2 separate regions of the Homo sapiens genome follow, and region 1 is linked to region 2. The links are contacts of gene promoters, found by promoter capture Hi-C in blood cells and fetal thymus (Javierre and others, 2016). All regions are on one chromosome and are shown on one strand. The core of a region is centred on a gene start or on the middle of the fragment in contact, and the rest is flanking DNA. Distances in the headings are between cores, read along the strand shown. Region 1 overlaps PUM1 (pumilio RNA binding family member 1). Region 2 holds the start of MATN1 (matrilin 1).

Evidence for each region. Contacts are between HindIII fragments. The CHiCAGO score rates a contact against its expected background, and 5 or more counts as called.
Region 1: a contact is called between a fragment that was not itself captured here and the fragment with the promoter of MATN1 in region 2, in 1 of 17 cell types (naive B cells). The highest score is 5.4, in naive B cells.

What each region holds. Positions count from the first base shown.
Region 1 is chr1:31,011,660-31,014,868 of GRCh38, forward strand. All of the region lies in intron 3 of PUM1 (pumilio RNA binding family member 1), which reads right to left. Among named protein-coding and RNA genes, the nearest start is that of SNORD103C, 45 kb to the left of the region's middle. The HindIII fragment of the contact is 703 bases long and covers 1,172-1,874 here.
Region 2 is chr1:30,722,212-30,725,478 of GRCh38, forward strand. It overlaps MATN1 (matrilin 1), which reads right to left and starts at 1,374. Exons shown (of 8, transcript NM_002379.3): 1 at 1,247-1,374. The coding sequence starts at 1,340. All of the region lies in intron 2 of MATN1-AS1 (MATN1 antisense RNA 1), which reads left to right. The HindIII fragment of the contact is 11,974 bases long and covers 1-3,267 here.

The DNA.
Region 1 (3,209 bases), core at 273-2,772, 290 kb after region 2:
ACCCACTGGCATAAATACCAGCAGTTGCCAAATCTTCACTTAACACACAATAACCAAAAATGTAAATGCATCCAACCTATGAAAAGATAGTTCCTATCCACCCCATCAAGAATCTGGAAATAAAGACTAGTTTTTTTGACAAGGCGAAAAGTAACAGATCACAAGAGAGATGTAGAGTTTGTTTTAAAGAATAACTTAGCAGTAAGAGGATTAAATGATGTGACAATTCCAAAAGAAGATAACAGGAATTAGGAATTGGTCCAACAAAAGCAAAAGAGACCCAAGGAATCAGATGTAGCCAGTATTATCCAGGTGACACATTTAAGGGCAGGGCATATGATGCACAAAGAAGCCTATTCTTATCAAAGCAATTAATGCATCTGGTTAGATAGTAGCTTAATTACACTGGACACTAAAAACACCCAAGTAATCTCCCTGGCTCCAACTCTGCTTACCAAGCCACCTTCTTAAAGAACTGGCTTCCTCCTATAGCCAACCATGCCAATCACCAAACACAACCATCCTTGTCCATCTAAGAGTTGTTTTTTTTCCTTAAAAAAAAAAAATCAGCAGACTGCATTTTGGTTTTCATACATTAGCCTCTTGTTGTTCTGGTTAGTGTGGGGTCAATATCGCAACCCAGTCATCTGAATTAGTAATAACAGTCCATTTCAAGATCTACAAACTGAGAACCATGACTTGGGGAGTCCTATCATCCCCAGCAATAAAATAAATAGACCTTGTACTCTTTCTTGTAATGAAACATTAAGTGGAATTCCTAACTGCCCCACCAATAGTGTGTGCTCTCAAATCTCTGGGAGAAACACACACACGTACACTGTTTATCCCACCCTGAATCGTAAGTTTATAAAATAAAAAAACTTATGAAAAGTAAAAAAAAAAAAAAAAAAAAAATTCAGTAAGCTTATCTATGAGGCTTCTGGAAAACAAAATAGAAGTCAAGCACTGGTTTACAAGCAATGTCAGCCACTTGAGACACTTCTTTTAAATTTGTCTGGAAACACCTTTTTTCCTTTCCATCTAACAAAAAAGAACAATACGCAAAACCACACTTAACACTTAACAATCAATCATGTCATAAACCCCTACACCAAGAACCCTTAAAACATGGATTAAGACAATAAAAAGTGGAGAATATCAAGAAACTCTAAGCTTCTTATTTTAAGAACAGTGATAAAGACCCATGAATGCTCTGAAATCACTTTATTTTAAACTAGTTTTAAATCCCAGCTGTGTGAATTTTATCCTCTTCTGCTTTTTCTCACCTATAAAATGACCTATTGTGTACAATGAAAGAGATAACACATGTAATGACATAATACAATGCTGAAACAGTAAACAAAAAATCAGCTACTATCCTTCTTTAAAAGAGCAAAGTAGCAGCCAATAGACATCACAATACTAATGATTTGTCAATGAAATGCTCCTATGTCAAACTATCAGACACAGTGATCATGGCATCACCTAGGCCATGTCAGTACAAACCTCATTACATTAACTACCCCAACAAAACAACACTACAAGAACCATGATTACGGCTTTTCAGGAACTGCAGAGGCAAGACAATTATTGCCTGGACTTGTTTGACCATACCGCCACTAATATTTGAATAGGGATTTATCAATGAGGTTTACTGATGATCTCAACAGTAAAAGGGCTCTCCAGCAACTACTCTGTACTCAAAAGGAATAAAATATTAGGTAACTGCTTACACACTCAATACAGGCTGCACAGAGCATCTCTCAGAGCAGAAATTGAGCATCTTAAGAAATACTACTAACATGGATGTTACAACCCTGCAGACGTGATCAGTTTGATCATGTTATTATCTAGCATCTCTAACTTACAACACAAGCTTAGTTTCACTGGAATGCAGCCAATGCAGGAAACAAATGCTTGATATTTAACTAGCTGGTAAGACAGACCAACAACCAAAACAATTATTAATCTCTTAGTATATATCTCACCACACTCTCAGTACATTAAGAGAAGATGACATCAACTCAGAGAAAGGACCTTTCAGAACTAACTGAAATGAGGAAGTTTGATTGGTAACCACTGATAATCACAGGTGGTAGTCTTACTTGTAAAAATTTTGTATTTTTCACAACTTATGTAGTCTCTCCATACCACAGACTGTTGTTGTGAAATCAAGTGAGATAGTATATGAAGTGCTTTTATAAATACTAAGAACTATACTGATATTAAGTTATACTAAAGCTTTATTTAAAGCTTTAACTTATTAAAACATATCTTTAAGAAAAGCCAAGTTCATTCATTCCTGGTTAGCGTAATTCTTTTGGAAGGGCCTCAGAAACTACATACGTATCAAAAGTCACAGCCAGGTATGATGGCTGATTCCTGCAATCCCAGCACTTTGGGAGGTGAGGCAGGAGGATAGCTTGAGTCTAGGAGTTAAAGACCAGCCTGGAAAACATGTGACAGCCCATCTCTACAAAAACTTAAAAAAGCCAAGTGTGGTAGCACATGCCTGTGGTCCTAGCTATTCAGGAGGCTGACCTAGGTGGGAGGATCACCTGAGCCCAGGAGGTCAAGGCTGCAGTGAGCCATGATTGTGCCACTGCACTCTAGCCTGGGCAACAGAGCAAGATCCAGTCTCCAAAAAAAAAAAAAAAAAAAAAATCTACATTCAAAGTGCTTGTAAAAATAAAAAAAAGTCGAGGCTGGATGCAGTGGCTCATGCTTGTAACCCCAGCACTTTAGGAGGCTGAGGTGGGAGGGTCACTTGAGGAGTTCAAGACCAGCCTGAGCAACATGCCAAGACCCAATCTCTATTTTTAAACATTAAAATTAAAAAAAAAAGAATTAAAAAAGTTGAAAGTAGGCCTGTAATCTCAGCACTTTGGGAGGCTGAGGCGGGCGGATTGCTTGCGGTCAGGAGTTCAAGACCAGCCTGGACAACATGGTGAAAACCTGTCTCTACTAAAAATACAAAAATCAGCCAGGCGTAGTGGCCAGGCGCCTATAATCCCAGCTACTCGGGAGGCTGAGGTAGCAGAATCACTTGAACCCAGGAGGCGGAGGTTACAGTGAGCCAAGATCGCACCACTGCACTCCAGCCTGGGCGACAGAGCAAGACTGTGTCTCAGAAAAAAAAAAAAAAGTTGAAAGCAAACTGCAAACTAAGTATTCAACAATAAATTAGCTGTGGGCCTGGTGCAGTGGCC
Region 2 (3,267 bases), core at 124-2,623:
GATGGGCCCTCCAGGCATGGGCACAGGCTTGAGAGCCAAAGCAGTGCCCGTCAACATGGCCTCTTTCATCTGAGCATCAAAGCAAATCACCAAAGTGGAACCAGTTTCCCTCAGCCTGGCAGCGCCTGCTGGCGGGTTGCCAAAGACAGGGAAAAGGAGCAGGAATTCCTGGTGGCCACCTCGGCAGCCTGATCAGGTGCACACCAAGACACACCCCCGAGGAGCAATGTCCTCCAGAGACCCAAGAAGGCAGCACCCTGTGCTGGGAAGTATGCAGGGTCAGAGTGAGTTCAGGCCTGGGTTCAAATCCTGGCTCAGCCACTCTGTGGGGCCCTGGGCAGATCATTGCACCTTTCTGAGCCTCCGTGATCTCACATGTCCAGTGGAGAGAATAAGGCTACTGTCACTGGCCTGGGCCTGCAGTCAGGAAGGTCTCACTACAAAGGCCCTTCCCTCCCCATCCCATGCGGAGTCTGAACTGAGCAGAGCCAATCCCAAAGAGGAAAGGGGAAACGTGCAGGGCCGTCCCAACCCCCAAGTCACAGTAACTCACAGTGCCCTAGACTGGGGCTCTGGACATCAGAGTTCCTCAGGAGACCTTAGAAATCACCATGCAGCAGGCTCCCTGCTGTCTACTCGCTAAGGCTACAAATGGGTAAACTGAGACCCAAAGAGGGAAAGGGAATTGGCCACACCGTACAGCAGTAGATCAATAACCTAGAGGCTCTGGCGCTATCTCACTGTGTGGTCTTAGGCCCTCACTGACCTCAGTTTCCCCATCTGTACAGGAAGAATGGGCATTCCAGGACTCAGTGCCCAAACCTGAAACTCTGGGGGGTGTTATTGCCCCCAGGGAGCCCAAGGCTGGAAGGACCTGCAAAGGGGGCATGAGCTCTTGGCATCCCAGGTCTGCTGTCATCAAAGAGCCATGGGCTCAGCCCTGGGCTTGGTGCAGCTCCAGACGTCAGCCAGCTCTCTGAGTAGCTTCTGCTCCCCAGAGACCTGGAAGACCAAGGTCCCTGCCTCATGCATGGTCCCTGAGGGCTGAGGAGCACCCCTGCCCTGACCCTTATAAGCACCATGGTCCCTGTCTGCTCCTGCACCAGCCCACTGCCCACCACTGCCGCCCTGCTCCCTTCCCCATCCTGGATCCCGTGTGCTCCCTGCCATATCGGTACCCAGCCCCCAGTGCTGAGGGTCAGGGCCCACTAGCTCAGTAGCCCCCATCTCACGCAAGCCCCCTCACCTCTGGACTGGGGGGCGAGGCCAGGGCTGCACAGGGCCTGGAGCAGCAGCAGCAGGCTGCAGAGCATGAGGCTAGTGCCAGAGAGGACCCTCATAGTTCTGGCAGCACGGGCAGCAGCCGGCACGGTTGTGGGACCAGTGGGGTCCAGGTCTTATCAACCCCACTGCCCGCCCAGCCTTTGGGTCAGGTGGCCCCCAACTGACGACTGACGTGGGGGCAGCCCGCCCTGGCCCCCAGCCCCCCCAAAGGGCGGGGCTTGGGCTGAATGGAGGTGTGTGTGCCCTGAGAGGGCGGGAGAGCCTGGCCCAGGCTTCAGAGGCCCCTCTGACCACAAGGGCTCCTTTGCTTGCAGAAGCAACTAGAGCGGCAGCTGGAATTTGGGAAATCTCAGGTGGGTGGGGGGTGGCTCTTCCAGGGGCTGGAGCCCGCGCTGCCTTGAAGCTCCACCCCAAGCCTAGGCATACCTGAGTCCAATGGCCCGGCCCAGCCCTGTCCTGCACCTTCATCCCACACCCAAATCCTTCCCCCACTCACAACCCCAAGTTTCTCATTAAATTCACTTCCCCTTCCCCAGCCTCACTGTGCCCTGCTCTCCGCACACGCCCTGCTCTCCAGCTACCCCTGGATTCTCCTCGAAGGCCTCCAGGCCATCACACATGCAGGGCCATCTGCCCAGAATCCTTTCCTCTCACTAACTCTCTGCCTTGTAGAATCTTTCAAGGTCATAATTAGGGCTAACATGTACCTTCACTGTTAGTATGGGCAGGGCAGTGGAGACCATGGTTAAGAGCACAGACTTGGGAGCCAGGTTACCTGGGTTTGCTATACCAGCAAACCACCTGTGTGACCATGGGCAAGTGACTTCACCTCTCATGTCTCAGATTGCTCATCTGGAAACTAGGGATGGTAATAGCGCCTCCTAGGGTTGATTCAAGGAGCAAAGGAGTTAGATGAGGTTTCTCAGTTAATCCTCTTGACAACTTTTTAAAGCAGCTACTGTTAAAGAACAGAGAGGTAAAATAACTTGTCTGAAGTTACACAGCTAAGAAGTGTTATTGCCAGGATAGAGCCCCAGGCCCGGCTCTCAGCCATGCTGCTGTCTCAGTGTAGCTTGATGTAGGTGGCTTCTCCCTGCCCATCTCTTCCCCCTGTGGGTCCCTGCTTGGCCCACCTCACCTGTCAGCCAGTGGATTCAACTCTGCATCAGGCCCAGCACAGAGAAGGCAAAGATAAAGCCTTCTAAACAAAGTAACATCAGCAGGAACGATCCCCTTCTTTGCATTTGGGTCAAGTAGTTCATGAGATAGAGCAGAAAGAGCATGGGCTTGGCTACCTGAGAGATCCAGGTTCAAAGCCACTTCTGCTCCTAACTGGCTGTGTGACCTGGAGCTGGTGACTTAACCTCTCTGAGCCTCAGCTTGCCATGGTGCAGTGGGAATGGTCGTTCTTGATCTGCCTGCCCCATGTGAGGGGCAAGAGGGGGACAGAAGTGGAAATGGAGTTAAAGGATTGTCATTGCTCCAGGAGGCAGAATCCTAAGACTTGGGACCTATGCACTTCACTCTGTGTAAATTATACCTCAATAAAAGGAAATGTACAGACAAAAAGCGACTGCTGGGTGCAGCAGACCCAACTCACCGCTACCACACTCTTTAGCAATAATTATAACAATCCCTTCCACCCTTGACATGGCAGTTACTCATTCTATCACTCTATCTCATTTGCTCACCCAACAAACCTGTGAAGTCAGCAGATTTGAGTCTCTTGGCCCATTTGTCAGATGGAGAAACTGAGGCCCAGAGAGGTTCACTGACTTACCCGAAGCCACCAGCCAGTTTAGGGGCAGAGCCAAGCCTAAAGCTCAGGCCTCACTCCCCTTTGCACCAGTGTTAGAGAAGGAGGAGGTTAAGAGCATTGCCTTCTGACTTTTTCCCCTTATATTTCATGTGTGCCTAATTCACTGCCCTCCCCAATTCCAAAAACCACTTGAAGCTGCTGATTCCTTTTTCTGCTACAACTTT